4 separate regions of the Homo sapiens genome follow, and regions 1, 2 and 3 are each linked to region 4. The links are contacts of gene promoters, found by promoter capture Hi-C in human tissues and cell types (Jung and others, 2019). All regions are on one chromosome and are shown on one strand. The core of a region is centred on a gene start or on the middle of the fragment in contact, and the rest is flanking DNA. Distances in the headings are between cores, read along the strand shown.

Evidence for each region. Contacts are between HindIII fragments. The study calls those that stand out against the background at their distance.
Region 1: a contact is called between a fragment that was not itself captured here and the fragment with the promoter of PTGIR in region 4, in 2 of the 25 tissues and cell types used here (mesenchymal stem cells and spleen).
Region 2: a contact is called between a fragment that was not itself captured here and the fragment with the promoter of PTGIR in region 4, in 9 of the 25 tissues and cell types used here (IMR-90 fibroblasts, adrenal gland, dorsolateral prefrontal cortex and 6 more).
Region 3: a fragment that was not itself captured here is called in contact with the fragment with the promoter of PTGIR in region 4 in 5 of the 25 tissues and cell types used here (dorsolateral prefrontal cortex, lymphoblastoid cells, small bowel and 2 more).

Annotation. Positions count from the first base shown.
Region 1 is chr19:46,693,401-46,698,620 of GRCh38, forward strand. It overlaps PRKD2 (protein kinase D2), which reads right to left. Exons shown (of 18, transcript NM_016457.5): 8 at 4,333-4,450; 9 at 3,757-3,834; 10 at 475-733. Among named protein-coding and RNA genes, the nearest start is that of MIR320E, 13 kb to the right of the region's middle. RefSeq lists an enhancer at 4,171-4,671. The HindIII fragment of the contact is 5,541 bases long and covers 1-5,220 here.
Region 2 is chr19:46,542,436-46,548,108 of GRCh38, forward strand. It overlaps the pseudogene PPP5D1P. Among named protein-coding and RNA genes, the nearest start is that of PNMA8B, 49 kb to the left of the region's middle. The HindIII fragment of the contact is 3,360 bases long and covers 1-3,238 here.
Region 3 is chr19:46,739,854-46,744,382 of GRCh38, forward strand. All of the region lies in intron 1 of STRN4 (striatin 4), which reads right to left. Among named protein-coding and RNA genes, the nearest start is that of FKRP, 3.9 kb to the right of the region's middle. The HindIII fragment of the contact is 3,275 bases long and covers 788-4,062 here.
Region 4 is chr19:46,622,788-46,628,481 of GRCh38, forward strand. It overlaps PTGIR (prostaglandin I2 receptor), which reads right to left and starts at 2,302. Exons shown (of 3, transcript NM_000960.4): 1 at 2,210-2,302; 2 at 671-1,450. The coding sequence starts at 1,438. RefSeq lists an enhancer at 2,517-3,017. The HindIII fragment of the contact is 28,599 bases long and covers 1-5,694 here.

The DNA.
Region 1 (5,220 bases), core at 1,499-3,998, 71 kb after region 4:
ATCAGGCCAGGAGCTTAACAGAGATTTGTTGTGGATTTTTGTTGTTGTTGTTTTTTCTGTTTTGGAGACAGAGTCTTGCTCTGTCACCCAGACTGGAGTGCAGTGATGCAATCATGACTCACTACTCCCAGGCTCAAGCAATTCTCCTGCCTCAGCCTTCCAAGTACCTGGAACTACAGGTGTGCACCACCACACCTGGCTAATTGTTTTTATTTTTTGTAGAGATGGAATCTCATTATGTTGCCCAGGCTGGTCTTGAACTCCTGGCCTCAAGTGATCCTCCCTCCTTGGCTTCCCAAAGCGCTGGGATTAACAGGAGTGATTAACAGAGTTTGAACCCAGGCCTGCTGAGTCCAGAAGCTGCGTTCTCAACCCCACCATTGCCCACTTTCCTCTTTGGCCCTTCCATTCCCCAGAACCGTGCCCCACCCATCTAGATCTATTCTCTCAAGGACCCGAGGTGGGAGGACTTACTGTGGGGCGCGTGGCCTGGGGCGCTGGGTGCGTCCTGAAGGATGACGGGCATCAGGGCCTGGCGGATGGCTGTCTCCCAGCCCCGGGCGGCCTCAGCCCCCTGCCCACTTGGCCCACCCGGAGTCCCGCCAGGCATCTCGCCCACGAAGTAGGTGGCATTGGCAGTGACGATCTCAAAGCAGTGTGGGTTGGTGCCCGGCGGCACAAGGCTGAAGTTCTGGGCGGACTCCACCGTGAGGATTTCTGACAGCGGAATTTCCTGCAGGACGTGGAACCAGCACAGGTGAGGATGCCAGGCAGACCTTGGAATTCTAGTGCTTACCCAGAAGGATACACGGGATCCATGTTGATAGGGATGGGCCTGGTTTGCACAGTGGTCAGACAAGTTCCCAGTAATTCTAAGCCTGTTCTCACTGTTCTTTTATAATTACTGGCAGAGGCCAGGTGCGGTGGCTCATGCCTGTAATCCCAACACTTTGGAAGGCCGAGGTGGGCAGCTCACTTGAGGTCAGGAGTTCGAGACCAGCCTGGCCAACATGGCAAAATCCCGTCTCTACTGAAAATACAAAAATTAGCCAGGCGTGGTGGTGTGCGCCTGTAATCCCAGCTAATCGGGAGGCTGAGGCAGGAAAATCGCTTGCACCTGGGAGGCGGTGGTTGTAATGAGCCAAGATCGCACCACTGCACTCCAGCCTGGGCGACAGAGTGAGATTCCGTCTCAAAAATAATAATAATAATACTAATTACTGGCAGAAGTGATATTGAAGCAGAGACCAGAAAGGTAAGAAGCAGCCAGTTGGCAAGGAGTAGGGGAACAGCATGTGCAAAGGCCCTAAGGAAAGGCTATGCTCAAAAGCCAAGCTGTATCCCCATCACATGGGCGGTGCCTGGACATAGTAAAAGCTTGATAAACATTTGATGGCCGGATGTGGTGGCTCGTGCCTGTACTCCCAGCACTTTGGGAGGCCGAGGTGGGCAGATGGCCCAGGAGTTCAAGACCAGCCTGGGCAACACAGTGAGACCCCAGCTCTACAAAAAATTTAAAAATTAGGCATGGTGCCACAAGCCTGTAATCCCAGCACTTTGGGAGGCCAAGGCAGGCAGATCGCTGGAGCCCAGGAGTTTGAGACCAGCCAGAGCAACACAATGAGACCCCCATCTCTACAAAAAATAAAAAAACTAGCCAGGTGTGGTGGTGCGCACCTGTAATCCCAGCTACTGTGGAGGTGGGAGAATCATTTGAGCCAGGGAGGCAGAGGTTACAGTGAGCCATGATCATGCCACTGCACCTGGGAGACAGGGCAAGAGCCTGTCTCAAAATAAATAAATGGGCTGGGCATGGTGGCTCATGCCTGTAATCCCAACACTTTGGGAGGCCAAGGCAGGCGGATCACAAAGTCAGGAGTTCGAGACCCGCCTGACCAACATGGTGAAAGCCCATCTCTACTAAAAATACAAAAATTAGCCAGGCGTGGTGGCACACCTATAATCCTAGCTACTTGGGAGGCTGAGGCAGAAGAATCACTTGAACCCCGGAGGCGGAGGTTGCAGTGAGCCAAGATCGCGCCACTGCACTCCAGCCTGGGTGACAGAGCGAGACTCCGTCTCAAAAATAAACGTTTGATAATAAATGGAGGAAATGAGGCCACACAGGGCTTTGCGGGCCACAAGGAAGAGCCTGGGCTTTGTCCAAGGGCCCTAGGAAGCCACTGAAGGCTTTTGAGCATCATCCGCTTGTGTGCGGAGGGCAGATGGAATAGAATGAGATGGAGACAGAGAACCAGGAAGGAGGCTGAGGGGACCCAGGCGGGACAGAAGGCACAGGGACTATGGGGTGGGAAACGTGTCAAAAGAGGAAGGAGGGAGGTAGGAGAGAGGAAAGAATGAATGACTTAGGCAGCCCATAAAACCAGGTGATGACATGGACACGTCGGGGGGGCATGGTGAGGACAGCATTATATTTTATTTTATTTTATTTTTTTGAGATGGAGTCTTGCTCTGTTGCCCAGGCAGGAGTGCAGTGACGCGATCTCAGCTCACTGCAACCTCCACCTCCCAGGTTCAAGCAATTCTCCTGCCTCAGCCTCCCAAGTAGCTGGGGTTATAGGCACCCGCCACCATGCCCAGCTAATTTTTGTATTTTTAGTACAGACAAGGTTTCACCATATTGGCCAGGCTGGTTTCGAACTCATGATCTCAAGTGATCCGCCCACCTCGGCCTCTGAAAGCGCTGGGATTACAGGCGTGAGCCACCACGCCTGGCCAAGGACAGCATTTTAGATGGTGTGGTCTGAGCAAAATGGGAAGATGATAAGGAACCAGCCATGGAAAGTTCAAGGAAGACGCTCCAGGGCAGGTAACAGCTGGAGTCCAGGTTTTATTACTCTAAGACAATGGGAGCCACTGGGGGGTTTGACGGTTTTAATGAAGACTCCCCTGGCTGTGGGGGAAATGACAGAGGTTGTGAGGTCAGAAGCAAGGACCCTGCAAGGAGAAGGCTGAAACCATCCAGGTGGAAGACAGTGGCTGGGACACAGTGTGGGCATGGGAGGTGGTGACGAATACGCACACAATGCAATACATTAATTATAAAGAAATAGTGAGGCCGGGTGCGGTGGCTCATGCCTGTAATCCCAGCACTTTGGGAGGCCGAGGGGGGCAGATCATGAGGTCAAGAGATCAAGACCATCCTGTCCAACATGGTGAAACCCCGTCTCTACTAAAAATACAAAAATTAGCTGGGTGTGGTGGCATTCACCTGTAGTCCTAGGGTGGGAGGCTGAGGCAGGAGAATCGCTTGAACCCGGGAAGCGGAGGTTGCAGTGAGCCGAGATCGCGCCACTGCACTCCAGCTGGGCGACAGAGTGAGACTCTGTCTCAAAAAATAAATAAATAACAAAAAATAAAGGAATAGTGAGAACAGCCTTAGAATTACTGGGAGCTTAATATATACCACGCCTTAAGCCAATTGGTTTAGTGGATTGGCTCTTTGAATTCTCGCACCAGCCCTGAGGTGAGTATTAGCATTTGAGGCATTTTGCAGGTGAGAAGCGTGAGGCACTGAGAAGTAAGGGAACCTGCCCGGAGTCCCCCTGGCTGGAAAGTGGTGGGGCCAGAATCGGATGGGCAGCACTTGCTGATGAGCTGGAAGCAGGGAGGCTGGGGGTGGGCAGAGGGTGTGATTTGCAGGATCTGTCTGGAGTAACTGGGGGTAGGAGGAGGTGTGGGAAAGTTTGTGGGCACAGCGGGAAGTCCGAGGGAGCTGAAAGCCCGGAGGCTTACCTTATAGTATCTGTTGGTCGTGTTGTTCTGGAAGAGCGTGATACACTTGCAGTCCAGGCGCCAATAGTGCCGCTTTCTCTGCAGAGATGTTTGAAGAGTCACGTGAACCGCCAGACTTTCCTGCCCAGTCCCTATCCCGTGGAGCTGCTTGGGGCTCCAGGTGCCTGGAGCACCACGTGCACGCCGTAACTCTAGCACCTACCCCACGCCGTAACCCCACCCCACCACACGCCCTAACCCCAGCCCCGCCCCTAGCCTTAACCCTAGCCCAGCCCCCACGCCCTAACCCCAGACTCGCCCCCACTTAGCCCTCTTCCTCCAGCCAAGCTCCTCCCCTAACTCTAGCCCCGCCCCTGACCTTGCCCTGAGCCCCGGGTCTTCCCTAACTCCTGCCCGTAGTCCCACCCTTACAGCCCACACTTCTAATTCTAGCCCCGCCTCCAGCACGGCCCAGCCCACTACTGGCCCCGCTCGCGCCTAGCTCCAGCCCCACCCACCTAGCCCCGCCTACTCAAGCTGAGCCGCCCCTCTTCCAGCCTTCGCTCCGCCGTACCCGGCCCCGCCCCGGCCACTCACCAGCGTGTCCTTGTTGCTGTAATGAACCACCCAACCCTCCCGCAGCGTGGTGCTGGATTTCCGCGTCGTGTGTCGCACCGATTGCACCACCCTCATTAGGGGGATGTACCCCAGGGAGCTGCGAAGGAAGAGGAAGGGGTGAGAAGTCACATGCAGAAAGTGACCATGCTGCTTGGGAATGCAGGGGGCATCTCTGGGAAACTAGGGAGTTGGGGACTGTTTTTGTTTGTTTGGTTTGTTTTGACATTTTCCCCCCAACACACACCCGGGAGTTGCTTTTTGTTTGTTTTTAAGAGGCTCGCTCTGTCACCCAGGCTGGAATGCAGTGGTGCGATCTCGGCTCACTGCAACCTCTGCCTCCCGGGTTCAAGCGATTCTCGTGCCTCAGCCTCCTGAGTGGCCGGGACAATCACGGTGACCATTAGGTGCACGCCACCACCCCTGGCTAATTTTTGTATTTTTAGTAGTGATGAGGTTTCACCATGTTGGCCAGGCTGGTCTCGAACTCTTTGCCTCAACTCCTTCCCTAACTCCTGCCCCTAGTCCCACCCTTAGAATCCCTTCACGAGATCCATCCGCCTCGGCCTCCCAGAGTGCTTACAGGTGTGAGCCACCACGCTGGCCCAGAAGGAGATTCTTGAGAGGGCTTCTGTAGTAGGCCTTTCTGAAGTCAGGCTGCCTAGCAAATTACCTAACCTCTTCATGCCTCAGTTTGTCCACCCAAAGGGGATGCTATGAGGAATGGAAACCTTTCTACGGAGCTTAGTACAGTGCCTGGCATACAGAGGACCTCCAGTAAGTGCTAATTGGTATTTAGTCCAGCAATTGTGGAGCCAGCTGTGTGACACTGGGTAAGTGATTCAACCTCTCTGGGCCTCACCTCCCTCA
Region 2 (5,673 bases), core at 309-2,808, 81 kb before region 4:
TTCATTTGTGTCTTTCCTTGAAAGGATAATTTGAACAAAAGAGTCTAAGATTTTTTTAGAAATTGTTGCAATATCTGAAAAAAAAAAAAAAGAACCTCCCAAAGAAACCTGCATTCTGATTGGTTGTCTTCCTTGATTATTTGTTGCTATGGTGACCAGGAGGTTAAATAGCATCTCTGTATTTCCTAAAGAATAAATACTGGTTGGTTTTCTCTGGCAAATCAGAAAAGGATCATTTCTCTCCTTCCATGATCATGATGCAATAAAAGCCTAGGGCTCTTCTAGATTTATATTTTATCAAAGAAAGTGAGAGTCTTGTCTTATCCAAATTAACAGAAGCACTTAGTCCAGTGTCCAGTCGCTTGAGTGGCGGTGGCCACTCTCGGAAGGGCAATTACAAACTGTACTAATAGTAAGTCCAGCGCGCCATCTGGTGGCCAATTAGAGAATAGCATGACCGTATCTACTTAAACTAAAAGGCGACTCACCTCCCTTCTTGTCTGTTAAGGCTGCCCTAGCAAATTAATACAATAAGCTTGTTCCTGTTGGTCTTAGTCTGATTGAGAAAGAACCCTTGACTGCTTTGACCCATAGAATATGACAGATGTGACACTGTGCTGGGCATGGCGGCTCACGCCTGTAATTCCAACACCGAGAAGCAGAGGTGGGCGGATCGCTTGATCCCAAGACTGCAAGACCAACCTGGGCAACACAGAAAGACCCCAACTCTACTAAAAATAACTTTTTTGTTTTGTTGTGAGACGGAGTTTCGCTCTTGTCGCCCAGGCTGGAGTGCAATGGCGTGATCTCGGCTCACCACAGACTCCGCCTCCTGGGTTCAAGCGATTCTCCTGCCTCAGCCTCCCGAGTAGCTGGAATGACAGGGGTCCGCCACCGCACGTGGCTAATTTTGTATTTTTAGTAGAGACAGGGTATATCCATGTTGGTCAGGCTGGTCTTGAACTCCCGACTTCCACCCACCTCCGCCTCCCAAACTGTTGGGATTACAGGCGTGAGCCACCACTCCCGGCCAAAAATATAACTTTTAAAAATAGGCTGGCGTGGTGGCCCGCACCTGTAGTCCCAGCTACTCGGGAGGCTGAGGCAAGAGGATCCCTTGAGCCTAGGAGGTAGAGGCTGCGGTGAGCTATGATGGCGCCGCTGCACTCCAGCCTGGGTGACAGAACGAGACCCTGTCTAAACAAACAAACAAACAAACAAACAAGTGACACCGCCAGGCCTGGATCTACATTTTAAGGGAACCAGCAGATTCCGTCGTGATCTCTTTGGCTCCCAGGCTACTGTGTAAGAATTGCAACTCCCCAGCCGGGCGCGGTGGCTCACGCCTGTAATCCCAGCACTTTGGGAGGCCAAGGCGGCGGATCACGAGGTCAGGAGATCGTGACCATCCTGGCTAACACGGTGAAACCCCGTCTCTACTAAAAATACAAAAATTAGCCGGGCGTGGTGGCAGGCGCCTGCAGTCCCAGCTACTCGGGAGACTGAGGCAAGAGAATGGTGTGAACCCAGGAGGTGGAGCTTTCAGTGAGCCCAGATCGCGGCCACTGCACTCCAGCCTAGGCGACAGAGCGAAACTCCGTCTCAAATAAATAAATAAATAAATAATAAAAAAAGAATTGCAGCTCCCCTAAGAGCATGGAGCTGTGAGAAGGCCCAGGAGAATTGAAGCTTCCAGACATGGGAGTGAAGAAGCCATCTTGGAGGTGGGTCCTCCAGCCCTCATCACATGATGCCACGTGGAACAGAAATGAACATCCAGTCAAACCCTTTTCACATTCCTGACCCACAAAATCCTGAACAAGCTTGGGAATTAAGCTATTACTGTGCCATTTTTTGTTGTTGTTGTTTTTGTTTTTTCTTTTTGTTTTGTTTTGGGTTTTTTTTTTTTTTTTTTTTTTTGGTTTTCTGGGTTTTATTTGAGATAGAGTTCTGCTCTTGTTGCCCAGGCTGGAGTGCAATGGCACTATCTCGGCTCACTGCAACCTCCGCCTCCTGGGTTCAAGTGATTCTCCTGCCTCAGCCTCCTGAATAGCTGAGATTACAGGTGCCCACCACCACGCCCGGCTAATTTTTGTATTTTTAGTAGAGACAGTGTTTCGCCACGTTGGCCAGGCTGGTCTCAAACTCCTGACCTCAAGTGATCCGCCCACCTCGGCCTCCCAAAATGCTGGGATTACAGGCGTGAGCCACCGCCTGCGGCCATTGTGCCACTTTTATAGAGGAGGAGATTGAGGTTCAGAGGCCCAGTTGATGGTCCAAGATCACACACTGGGAAGTACTGGAACCAGGGTTATGAAATCCTGTCTGCTTGGCTGCAAAGCCTCTACTCTTCCACACTGCATTATTTAGGAAGACAGACAGGCTTTGGGCACGAGCGTGGGCCTCACTGAGGGGAGAGGGGCCTTCTGGCCTCAGTAATATCCCTGTTCCCTTCTCTGACTGTCACTTCCCCCTTAGAGACAGAGTTTCTGCAGAGTGGAGTCTCTTCTCACGCCTGGGAGAGTTTGTGCAGGAGACATGAGAGCTGAAGATCTGGCACCACCTTTGCCTTAAAGACAAAAGGTGACATTTGGGAAAAGCATGCCACTCTTCGAGTGGTACTTAAGGATCCATGGGCTGAATCTGCCTTTTTTTCCCCAACTGATTTGGCAAGGACCTTCAAATAAATCCAGTGGAGCTTCTTGGGGCAGCATGGCCCACTCTCAAGAGTTTAGCCTTTGAGTCATGTGTGGTGGCTCGTGCCTATAATCCCAGCACTTTGGGAGGCCGAGGCAGGCTCACTTGAGGTCAGGAGTTCAAGACCAACCTAGCCAACATGGTGAAACCCCATCTCTGCTAAAAATACAAAAATCAGCTGGGCATGGTGGCAGGCACCTGTAATCCCAGCTACTCAGGAGGCTGAGGGAGGAGAATCGCTTGAACCCAGGAGGCAGAGGTGGCAGTGAACTGAGATCGCACTACTGTACTCCAGCCTGGGCAACAGAGCAAGACTCTGTCTCAAAAAAAAAAAAAAAAAAAAGAGAGAGAGAGAGAGAATTTAGCCTTTGGACTCGCACAGATCTAGGTTCAAACTCCAGCTTTGCTACTGCAGCCTCAGCGCACTTATCTGTAGAATGGGATTTCAAAATGATGTCTGCTTCTCAAAGTTGCTTTGAGAATTTGCTGATATTTTGTCTTTAAAATACTTCATTGTGTGCTGCCTTACACAAAGATCAGAATCTCTGAAAGGACAGGACAGGAACTTTTTACTCACTCACTGCTTCACTCACTGCTGTATGCCCAGTGCTTTCAAAAGCACCTGGGGCTGGGCGCGGTGGCTCATGCCTATAATCCCAGCAGTTTGGGAGGCAGAAGAGAGCAGATAACCTGAGATCAGGAGTTCAAGACCAGCCTGGCCAACATGGCAAAACCCCGTCTCTACTAAAAATCCAAAAAAAAAAAAAATTAGCCAGGCATGGTGGCGCATGCCTGTAATCCCAGCTACTCAGGAGGCTAAGGCATGAGAATTGCTTGAACCCGGGAAGCGGAGGTTGCAATGATCCGAAATCAAGCCACTGCACTCCAGCCTAGGCTCCATCTCATAAAAAAAAAATAATTAAAAACAGTAAAAATAAATAAAAAGCACTCAGCGTGGGATTTTCAATAAATAGTTACTGAATGAGTAAATCAAAAGCAGTCAATGTTACATATGATGATCAGGGCATTTTCAGTTGCAAGCAACAGAAATCTAAGTCAAACTGGCTAAAGGAGAAACAAAAATTCACTGGCCATCTTATTGTAAGACAATAGTGTAGCTTAAACAATAAAAACAAATTGAATTCTCTTTCCCATAGTAGCTCCGGGGTGAATGACCTTGTGAGGCTGTGCGTGTGGCCATCATTCAGGAACCCAGATTCTTTCGGATTGTTGCTTAAAGTGTAGTCCCGAGACCAGCAGCAGCCTCTGGCAATTCATAGGAAATGCACATTCCCAGGTTCCCCCAAGACCTACTAAGTCGGAAGCTCCGGGGGCAGGACCCAGAAAACTGTGCCCTAACAAACTCTCCAGGGAATTCTGATGCCCACTTTGAGAGCCACTGACCTCATGCTCTGTCAGCATTTGCATAATTGAATGTGCCACCTCTGAGTGACTTGGTGAAAGGGAAAAAAGAGAAAGTTCAGAGCAAGACATTTCCTTGAAAGCAGGTAAAGTGGAAATTGCGCAAGTCATGTCCAACTGCAAGCCACTGGGGAGGACCCAGTCATGTGGCTGCAGCCAACCTCAAGGGAGGCTGGGAAATGTAGTCCCCAGCCAGGCAGCCATGTGCCTGAGGAGAAGAGGAGATGGGCTTTTGCTGTCCAAAGGTTTTTGTTTGTTTGTGTTAAGAGACAGGACCTCACTCAGTTCCCCAGGCTGGAGTGCAGTAGCTGCAGCCTCAATCTCCCAGGCTCAAGGGAGCCTCCTGTCTCAGCCTCTCAAGTAGCTGGGACTACAGGTGCATGCCACCATACCCAGCTAATTTTTGCATTTTTTTAGAGACTAGGTCTCAACATATTGCCCAGGCTGGTCTCAAACTCCTGGGCTCCATTCACCTGGGCCTTCCAAAGTGCTTGGATGACAGGCATGAGCCACCACTCTAAGCCCCTGTCCAAAGCTTAAGACTGCTGCAGCCATACTCCTCAGGGTCCCAAAGTCTTCCTTGTTACCTGAAAGCAGAAATAAATAGTTCTGAGGTGCCAGCAGTTTTCATGGACACCTCCCCAGGTGATATGATTAGGCTTCATGTCCCCACCCAAATCTCATCTTGAATTGTAATCGCCATAATCCCCATGAGTCAAGGGAGAGACAGATGGAGATAATTGAATCATGGGGGTGGTTTCCCCTATGCTATTCTCATGATAGTGAGTGAGATCTAATGGTTTTGTAAGGGGCTCTTTCCCCTTTACTGGGCACTTCTCCTTCCTGCCGCTTTGTGAAGAAGGTGCCTTGCTTCCCCTTTGCCTTCAGCCATGATTGTAAGTTTCCTGAGGCCTCCCTAGCCATGTGGAACTGTGAGTCAATTACACCTCTTTCCTTTATAAATTACCCAGTCTCAGGCAGTTCTTCACAGCAGTGTGAAAACGGACTAATAGGCCAGGCGCAGTGGCTCACGCCTGTAATCCCAGCAGGGGAGGCTGAGGTGGGTGGATCATGAGGTCAGAAGTTCGAGATCAGCCTGGTCAATATGGTGAAACCCTGTCTCTACTAAAAATACAAAAATTAGCTGGGCCTGGTGGCACACACCTGTAATCCCAGTTACTTGGGAGGCTGAGGCAGGAGAATCACTTGAACCCAGGAGGCGGAGGTTGCAGTGAGCTGACATCATGCCATTGCACTCCAGCCTGGGCAACAGAGAGAGACTCCATCTCAAAAAAAAAAAAAAAAAAGAAAGGAAAAGAAAAGAAAATGGTCTAATACACCAGGGCACGGCCAAAAGGGTCCTTAAAGGTTTTGCTCCCCAGCATCAGTTTAACCACCTGGAAACAAGAGGCCAGAAATTGCTGCAGGCAGGGAACAGAGGTCTTATGCTATGGACTGAATTGTGTCCCCTTATCCCCAAAATTCATATGTTGAAGCCCCAACCCCCAATACGACTGTATCTGGAGATAAGAGTCTTTAGGAGGTAATTAGGTT
Region 3 (4,529 bases), core at 1,175-3,674, 120 kb after region 4:
CACAGAATAAAGGCTAACAAATGCCAGCTTCTACTTCTTTCATCATTTTTATTCTCCCTGTCCATTGTTCGCAACTTCGAAATGGGCCCAGTTCCTTACGGGAGGTAGGATCCCTTGGAGACCCCAGATCAACTAGAAATGTCTGTGGATTGGCCAGGCACAGTGGCTCACGCCTGTAATCCCAGCCCTTTGGGAGGCTGAGGTGGGCAGATGACTTGAGGTCAGGAGTTCAAGACCAGCCTGGCCAACATGGTGAAACCCCATCTCTACTAAAAATACAAAAAACTTAGCCAGGCATGGTGGTACACACCTGTAGTCCCAGCTACTCGGGAGGCTGAGGCAGGAGAATCGCTTGAACCTGGGAAGTGGAGATTGCAGTGGGCCAAGATCGTGCCACTGCACTCCAGCCTGGGCGACAGAGCCAGACTTCGTCTCAAAAAAAAAAAGAAATACATGTCACCAGTTACCTTATAGAAAAGAAAACTCATCTGTCCGCTTCAAGAATGGGAAATTTTTTTCCTTTTTAACACTTTTTACCAACACATATGTATATAAACATCCAAGGCCAGACAGGGAAACTACTTATATGACATCAGCATCTCTGAAGCATGAGTTTCTGTCCTTTGTGTATCTTCTCAGTCCCCCAAATCTACTCTCTGAATCACTGGAGAAGGTGTGAGGAGAGGCAGACCGACCACCGAAGACAAGTCCTGACTTTCCTCCTCACTCTCCTCCCTTCCCTCCTGGGGTTTGGTGATTGATCCCTCAACCTCCCAGGGGCAGTTCAGCCTGCCGGGAACCTACACCTTGGTCAATACCTGCCACTGTTTGGTGACTGCCCACACACATCAGGTGCCCCAGTAAGGCGCTGGGGAATAACAGAGGAGCCATGTGGTTCCTGCACCCACAGGGCTCAGTCCCATGCAGGAGACAGGCATGAGCAGCAACTCACATGCAATGTGACTAGGACCCCATTGCGGGAGCGAAGGACGCTATGGGAAGAGGGACAAGAGGCGACAATTCAGCTAAGGCCTGAAGCTGAAGAGAAGTTAGCCAGGGGAGGGAAGGGCCCTGCTGGCAGAGGACGGAGACAAGAGCTGCATGGTGGGCTTAAGGAACTCTAAAAAAGGCCAGGATGGCTGCTTCAGAACCTGTAAAAGGCTCAGTGAAGCCATGGAAGGGTTTTAAGTACAGAGAGGTAACCGATTCGCATGTTATAAAGGCAGCTCCAGCTAAAACATGGAGAACTGACTGGAGGGAGTTCTGGAGGGAGACTAGAGGGAGGGAGCAGGAGAGCGGCAGAGCTGGACACAGAGACCCCCATCACAGATGAGGGCAGTCCCAGAAATCCCAGGACAGAACGGTAGTGGCTTGGACTAGGCCGGGGCAGTGGACACAGTAGTGGTCTATCTGTGGGGGCAGGAGGTGGAGTTGGGCATCCCAACCAGACCTGTCACTGGCTGGGTTCCCCCTTCATCCCTCTGCTGCCTCATCGAGCTGTGGTCTCCCTCCTCCTAATGAGGATGTGAGGGTCTCAGCTGCCCACTCTGCTTTGCTGTCCCTTTCCCAGTGCCTCTGGAAAGAGAACCAGAAAGACATGGTTGGAGCATCTCAGGGAGGTGGAAACCCACCAAAAACGGGAAGCGTCAGTGGCCAGTCTCTCCCTCGCTGCAAACGCCAGCAGCCCCCACGGGCTGTCTGGTCTGCGAGGGCCAAGGTAGGCCTGAGGGTCGGTCGGGGATCTGGAAGTGCCGCTCACCATATCCACCCACTGCCACTCCCTCTAGCCAGAGCCGCAGAGCATGCGCTCCCAAAACCTTCTGATACCTGGCAGCTACTGCCTCTCCGCCCCTCCAGCTATTCCCAGCAAGGCGACATCTAAAGGCTTCGGAGGAGTCCCAGCAATTCAGTCCTCCCAGGAGCTGATGCCTCTCTGAATTCGCTGCTTCCTGTCCCAGCTAGCTGGGAAGAGTCCCCGTTTCGTGCCATCTAGCCCTGCATCTCCTAAGGGCCTCCTTCCCAAGCTTCAGCAGCTGCTGGCAGGAATGGGCCCCCAGGAAGCTGAAGTGGGCAGGGGCAGCTCCGCACATTCTCTGCTGGCACCGCACTCACTGCAGGTCCCTGTCGCTGCTCCTATACAAATCTCCAGTTCAGATCCCTCATTAAAAGGTCCCTCCCATCCTCAAAAAGCTTCCCCTCTCAGAGTTGCCACAGAACAGGGGCAGAGCCACACAATCAACTGTGCATGAACATCTACAGCTCTGCGGTCCCCTGCACAAACAAGCTTCCTCTGCCAGCCTGGAAGTTTCGGATGGGCAGAAACCACGTTACTTACTTCTCAGAATCCCCCACCTAGCAAATGCCTGCTCATTATCAGACTGCAGCTCCGCCACCTTCCTGCTCCAAACTTATGGTGACTACTGGCAGGACCTCCCTGGGGGCTGCCTTCTCTGCCATTCAACACACAGGTACCAAGCAGGGTCGCACGGCAGGTCTTCTGCTAGGAGCAGCTGTATTAAGCTCTTCAGAGAAAAGTTATTCAGAGTCCATCAGGAAAATCTGACACTGCCTAGCTCTTAAGGGATCTCACAGGGGAAGTCACACCGTCTGTTAGCACTAAGTGTTCAAGTAAAGGTGTGTAAAAGAGGTGCCGCTGATGGGAGAGTAAACTGGTGGGTCAATGTGGCAGAGTCATTCACTGTTTCTTTTTTTATTTTTATTTTTTTTGAGATGGCATCTCGCTCTGTCACCAAGGCTGGAGTGCAGTGGTGTGATCTCGGCTCACTGCAACTTCTGCTTCCCGGGTACAAGCGATTCTCCTGCCTCAGCCTCCCGAGTAGCTGGGACTACAGGCGCCCACCACCACGCCCGACTAATTTCTGTATTTTTAGTAGAGGTGGGGTTTCACCATATCGGCCACGCTGGTCTTGAACTCCAGACCTTGTGATCCACCTGCCTTGGCCTCTCAAAGTGCTGGGATTACAGGCGCGAGCCACCGCGCCCAGCCCAATCACTGTTTCATAAACACATCCATTCTACTATTCCACTCATCTGTTCTGCTTCATTCTTGCACAGGAATAAGGGGTTCTCACTGCAGCCATGTCTGATGGGGGAAAAACTAGAAAAAATCTAAAAGTCCACCAACCAGGGTCAAACTCAATCAGCTATGGTGCAAACATCCCGTGGGACGCTATGCAGCTATCAAAAAGAAAGAGTTCTCTGTGCTGATATGAAAGGAAAACCAAAACAGATTATTATGTCACAAAATGATACATACAGCAGTAGTTCATCTATTACATAAGCACAATAACTCTTCTCTCTCAGGAGAGAAGAGCAGGAAAGGGACGAAGAGAAGGAACTTTCCTTTTTCACTTACATATATATGTGTATACACACACTCACACACACACACACACCCCTCTGAGATGTCTGAATTTTTACTAACTTAACAGAATAAAAGAAAACAAAAGTACAAAGTGACAGTGCTGGTACCATGCCAGACACAAGTTCCTCTCAAACTCCAAGAAGGGTCAGTAAGTGAGGGGATAAACATCTTTTCTCTCATCAGCCTCCAGGATGAGAAGATGGTGTGGTGGGTGCTGTGCGGTGCACTGGTGCAAAGTCCCAGAGGCCAAGATTCAGTCCAAGCTCTGCTATGACTGCTTGGGTGACCCTGGGGAGGCCACTATGCTTGCCTGAACCAATTTTCTCAACTGTACTGGGTAGCAGAGAGGTACAGAACATGGGCTTAAAAGTCTACCGACGGTCGGGCATGGTGGCTTATGCCTGTAATCCCAGCACTTTGGGAGGCCGAGGCAGGTGGATCTCTTGAGGCCAGGAGTTCGAAACCAGCCTGACCAACGTGGCAAAACCCCATCTCTACTAAAAATACAAAAATCAGCCAGGCGTGGTGGTGGTGCACACCTGTAATCCCAGCTACTTGCGAGGCTGAGGCAGGAGAATCGCTTGAACCTGGGAGGCAGTGGTTGCAATGAGCCAAGATCATGCCACTGCACTCCACCCTGGGTGACAGAGTGAGACTCTGTCTCAAAAAAATAAAAATAAAAATAAATAAATAAATAAATAAATAAACAAAAGGTCCACCACAGACCAGCCCTTCTGCTCATCTGCTGGGATCCTAGATAAATCACCCTCTCAAAACCTCCATTTCCTCTCCTGATTTTTTTTAAAGGTAGGGGGAATATCCTTTATCCTCCCAGAATGCTGCAAGAATTAAATGACAGCTCGTATCTACAGTACTTGATACAGCGCCCCAGACATGGTATGTGCTCACTAAATTGCAGCTGGTACCGTTATTGCTGAGTGAGGTAATGACACTGCCTCTGCCTACATCACAGGGCATTGTGAAGATCTGATGAGATGTATGCTGGGAAAGAGCTTCGGAAGTAGAGAGTGGGACAGAAGTGAGAGCAGTTACATAAGGATTCTGCTCCCATCCCAGCCCCAAGCCTCAGCCACCACAAGTGAGGGCAGGGGGAGAGTTACTGGAGGGTCTTTACTCATCCTAT
Region 4 (5,694 bases), core at 1,052-3,551:
CAACCTCCCAGGCCGGAGCAATCCTCCCACCTCAGCCTCACAAGTAGCTGAGACCACAGGCACAGGCCATCATGCCAGGCTAATTTTTAAATGTTTCATAGAGATGGGGTTTCACCATGTTGCCCAGGCTGGTCTCAAACCTCTGGGCTCAAGTGATCGTCCTGCCTCGCCTTTCTTTTTCTTTTTTTTCTTATTTTTTTTTTTTTTTTTTTGGGACGGGGTCTCACTCTGTCACCCAGGCTATAGTGCAGTGGCACGATCTCAGCTCACTGCAACCTCCGCCTCCGGGGTTCAAGCGATTCTCCTGGCTCAGCCTCCCAAGTAGCTGGGACTTCAGGCATGTGCCACTACGTCCGGCTACTTTTTATTTATTTATTTGTTGTATTTTTAGTAGAGACAGGGTTTCATCATGTTGGCCAGACTGGTCTCGAACTCCTGACCTCAAATGATCCGCCGGCCTCGGCCTCCCAAAGTGCTGGGATTACAGGTGTGAGCCACCGCATCCGGTCCTGCCTCGGCCTTTCTACATGCTGGGATTACAGGCGTGAGCCACCATGCCCACGATGTCTCACCTCTTTTGAGCCTCAGTCTCCCCATCTGTGACATGGGCACAACCCACAGAGCTGCCCTCCTCCTCTCCCCACTCCTCCCAGCTCCGGAGGGGACTCACCGTGAGAGGCAGGGAGCACACGGCCATGACCACTGTCATGAGGGCCAGCAGGATCAGGTGGTCCACCTCGTCCTCTCCGGTGCGCGGCCGTGGACCCAGAGAGCCCTGGTGGCGCTTCTGCTGGCGGTACATGCGGCAGAGGCTGAGGGTGACCGAGCCGTTGCAGAGGAAGATGGCAGCCACCAGCAGGGCCACCAGGCCGGCGTAGGCCAGCGAGAAGGCGGCGCCGCCCGGCTGGGCCCAGCGCATGCGGAGGAAGCACCAGCTGCCGGGGCAGTACTGCTGGTGTTGGCCCAGGCCCAGCAGGGGCAGCGCGCAGAAGAGGACGCAGAAGGCGTAGATGGCTGGCAGCGCCAGGCGGGCGCAGCGGGGCCCGTCCAGCTGCGCGTAGAGGTAGGGGTGGCTCAGCGCCAGGCAGCGCTCCACGGCCATGGCAAAGAGGATGAGCATGGACGCCAGGCCGAAGAAGGTCATGGCGAAGGCGAAGGCATCGCACAGGGCGGGGCCGCCTCGGGCCAGGCCCAGCAGGGAGCTGTTGCGCGCATAGGCCACGAACACGGCCGGGCTCAGGAAGCTGGTGCCCAGCAGGTCGGTGGCCGCCAGTCCGGTCACCAGCACCGCGAAGGCCGAGGGGCGCGCCGGTCGCCGTGCGCTCAGGATGCCCAGGGCCAGCCCGTTGCCCACCACACCGGCCACGAACATCAGGGTGCTGGTGGCCGGCCCCACCGAGCCCCGCACGTAGGTGAGGTTCCTGCACGAATCCGCCATCCCAGGTCTGGGCTGGAGGGTTCCCAAGGTGGGGGGTCAGAGGGAGCCAGGGCTACCCCCACCACCCAGCCCACTCAGATGTCCCTGCTGGCCAGTCCTTTTGGCAGCTGGGGCCTCCCAGCCAACCCCCAGTTCTCCTGTGTGTGCGGGTATGCAGTCCTCTCCCCTCTGGCTTCTCCAGTATCTCTCTCTGTCTCTCCCCACCTTCCTGTTTCTCTTTCTCTCTTTCTTTTCTTTCGTTTCTTTTGAGACAGAGTCTCACTCTGTTGTCCAGGATGGAGAGCAATGGCATGATCTCGGCTCACTGCAACCTCCACCTCCTGGGTTCAAGCGATTCTCCTGCCCCAGCCTCTGGAGTAGATGAGATTACAGGCGTCCACTACCACGCCCAGCTAATTTTTGTATTTTCAGTAGAGACGGGGTTCCACCATGTTGGTCAGGCTGGTCTCGAACTCCTGACCTCAGGTGATCCATCCACCTTGGCTTCCCAAAGTGCTGAGATTACAGGTGTGAGCCACCATGCCTGACACCCACCACCCCCCCACCACCTCCTGTTTCTTTCCTTCTCTAGCTCTGTTTCTGCCATTAAAGAGACAGAGAACATCCGGGCATTGCCAGTTCTTTCCCTCCCTGTCTCTCGGTCTCTTGCTGATATCTCCCTGTCTCTGTCCCCTCCCTTGTCCTTGTCCTCCCCGTACCTTTCTCCCTCTAACCCCACACCCTCTACCTGCTCCTGCTCTGTGTTGCTGCATCCCCAGCCCCTCACCGCACCTCTCCAGTCTTGCCCAGGCTCTCCTGTCCCGTGCGTCTGTGCCTTCACTTGCTTTGCTCCTCGTGTCTCTCGCTGCCTGTGTCGGTCTGTGTGTCAGCTTCTCCTTCCCTCCTCCCTCCGTCCCTCCCTCCTTCCCACCCTCCTCAGCTTGCCTGCTCACCCCAGCTTTTTCATTTCCTCTCTCTGCCCCGCCCTCCCTCACTGTTCTCCAGAGGGCCCCCTGGCACACTCCCCACTCCCCGTCCACCCGCCCAATCCAGGACATCCATCTCCCATCGCTGCCTCCACTCTCCTCCCCACATCCTCTCTTGGTTCCCATCACTGAGCCACCTGCCACCTCCCCACACACAGGTCTCCTCCCTCCCCCAGTGTCTCCCTCTCTGGCCTGGGTGGGGAATTCCTGAGTCACCATCACTTAGGCTTGGAGCCTCCCGGGGTAGTAGGGGGCCTCTAGGAGGGACCTGAAGAGCACAGTTGACCAGGCTTCAGTGGGGTGGTCTTGGCCTGGGCTGTCTCAGGGTGGCCTCTGGGATCTATTCTGGGCTCCAGGCCCCGGGGCTGAGGACATTGCCCAGGGATTGAGAAATGACCAGGAAATTCCTCTCTGATGTAGTGTTTTCCAGACACCACTGAGAGTTCTGGTCCCTGGACACAATTCACTCCTTCCAGAAAGCTGAGGAAGGAGGCTTGGCCAGAGAGAGACATGCCAGTCCCTCGAGCCTGTCCCTGGGCACCCAGCTCACCCTGCAGAGACCCGAGAAGAAAGCATGAAGGGGTGTATTTGGTGTCCAGTTGTCAGGGACAGGCTTGGGAGACTTCCATGGCCCATGATGGAAAGGTAGCACTGGGCCACCGTCCGACTTCTCGCACAGCACCCCTAGGCCCCAGGCCAAGCTCTGGTGACCTTGACCTTCAGGAATCATATTTTGATCACAGGAAGCTGTCCACAGCTCCAACATTGCTGCCATGTGTCCCCCACCCTCCCCAAACACAGCCAAGCCACCACCGCTGCAGCCTCGGGCCAGTGTGACAGACCCACATGTTCCCGCTACCCGCACAGCGTTCACGGGTCTCCCTTCCCACGGAGTCGGTGGCTTCCCAGGCAGCCTCCCAGCCCAAAAGGGCCAGATAAAACCTCAGAGACCCTCTCTGAGCCCCGCTGTTTCTCAGGGGGACGGTCTCAGATCCATTCGACTTGGCTTCCTGTTTCCATCTGACCACCTTTTTTCTTGCTGCGAGATGGTCCCAGGTGAGGAGAGGGAGCTGGTAGACTTCAGCCTCCTTCTCTGTGCGTGGGGTAACACGGGCCTCAGGGACCTGGTGGCCAGCCTCGGCCTGCAGCACATCCCAGATTGGTCTTTGTAACAAGGAGAGAGGCTGTGCGGGTGTCTCTTGTCCAAGGCCAGGAGGGATGTGTCCAACCCAAGGACTGGACTGTGGGCAGCTGCCGTCTTGCCCTCTGTACCCCGGTGTGTGACCACAACCCCTTTGCCCCTCCCCCCCATCTCCCTATCACCCTTGCCCAGCTGGCACCCGCAGCTTCCAGCAGGATGGACGCCCAAGTTCCAGCCCCACCGTGGCTCCCTAAGGGACCCCCCAGCCCTGCTCTGGGGGTGCCTGTACATGTGGGCTCCAGGTCCTGCCACGTTGTCCCGCCTCATGCCGTGAGGTCCCCAGACAGACCAGAGGGAACTCAGGAAGTTATATCATATTAATGAAGGATGATGCCTGGCAGGCGTGCATCTTGTTTCGGCATCGGGGGGGCCTCTGGTTCCCGGAGACTCCCTCTCTCGCTTCCTGTTACAAGGACGGTTAACATTCAGGAAGTCCCCTCTGCTCCCATGCCCAGTGGGACCACAGTCAAACCCTTGTCCCTTCCAGGCCTCAGTTTCTTTTTTGTTGTTGTTTTTCTTTTTGCTTGTTTGTTTTTGTTTTGAGATGGAATCTTGCTCTGTCACCCAGGCTGGAGTACACTGGCATGATCTCAGCTCACTGCAACCTCCGCCTCCCGGGTTCAAGCGACTCTCGTGCCTCAGCCTCCCGAGTAGCTGGGATTACAGGCATGTGCCACTGCGCCCAATTTTTATATTTTTAGTAGAGGTGGGGTTTCACCATGTTGGCCAGGCTGGTCTTGAACGCCTGACCTCAGGTGATCCGCCCGCCTCGGCCTCCCATAGTGCTGGGATTACAGGCGTGAACCACCTTGCCTGGCTGTTCGTTTGTTTTTGAGACAGGGTCTTGCTCTGTCACCCAGGCTGGAGTGTAGTGCTGCAATCTCGGTTCACTGCAACCTCTACCTCTGGGGTTCAAGCGATCCTCCCACCTCAGCCTCCTGAGTAGCTGGGACTACAGGCACCCACTGCCACGCTAGCTAATTTTTGTATTTTTGTAAAGACAGGGTTTCACTGTGTCACCCAGGCTGGTCTCAAACTCCTGGACTCAAGTGATCTGCCTACCTCGGCTTCCCAAAGTGCTGGGATTATAGGCCACCACGCCTGGCCTCAGGCCTCAGTTTCCCCGCCGATGCCACTAGGAGTCATGAGCCCTCGCAACCCCAGGATCGGTTCTGTGTTCCTGCATCAGGAGCAGGTAGGGGTGGCAGTGACTGTGACTCCCTCCTAATGAGGGGACTGAGTTCCCCAGAGTCCGTACTGGCGCCAGACATGCCTCAGTCACCTTGCCCTGAAACCCAGCCTCCTGCTTGGCCGTGGCCCCAGCTAGCCGGGCCAAGCCCACAGCAGGGTCCACACGGGGGTTCCACTCCCCAGCCAGGTGCCTTGGGGTGAGAAATCACCCACGGTGCGTTGTGCCAGGGGCAGCTTCCAGGGTGGGCGGAGCTATGGAAGGAACTGCCCTGGGGGCGTGGGTCCGTAGCCTCCATCTCACACTCTCTCCACCCATGGCGAGGAACAGGACCAGGCCTCCCTGAGGGGGACCCTGAAGCAGCAGGGAAAAAGAGGAAGGACAGCTCAGAGACCACTGAGATTAGGGACGCACACACAGCACCCGGGAGGGGAGAGAGATTGAGGCTAGTGTGCTGGGGACTGTGGGTGTGTAACCGGATTGTGACTCTCTGTAGAGTTAGTGCGGCCCATGTGACCTAAGTGAGCATTTTTCTCAGCATTGATTGTGTTTGCGTGTGTATTGTGTGTATATGTGTATTGTGAGCTCGTGGGACTCTGTGTGCACATGGGCACACAGCTATGTTGTAGTTTTGTTTTGTTTTTGAGATGGAGTCTTGCTCTTTTGCCCAGGCTGGAGTGCAGTGGTGCCATCTCGGCTCACCACAACCTCCACCTCCCAGGTTCAAGTGATTCTCCTGCCTCAGCCTCCCGAGTAGCTGGGATTACAGGCACCTGCCACCACGCCCAGCTAATTTTTGTATTTTAGTACAGATGGGATTTCACTATGTTGGCCAGGCTGGTCTCAAACTCCTGATCTCAGGTGATCCGCCGGCCTCAGCCTCCCAAAGTTCTGGGATTAC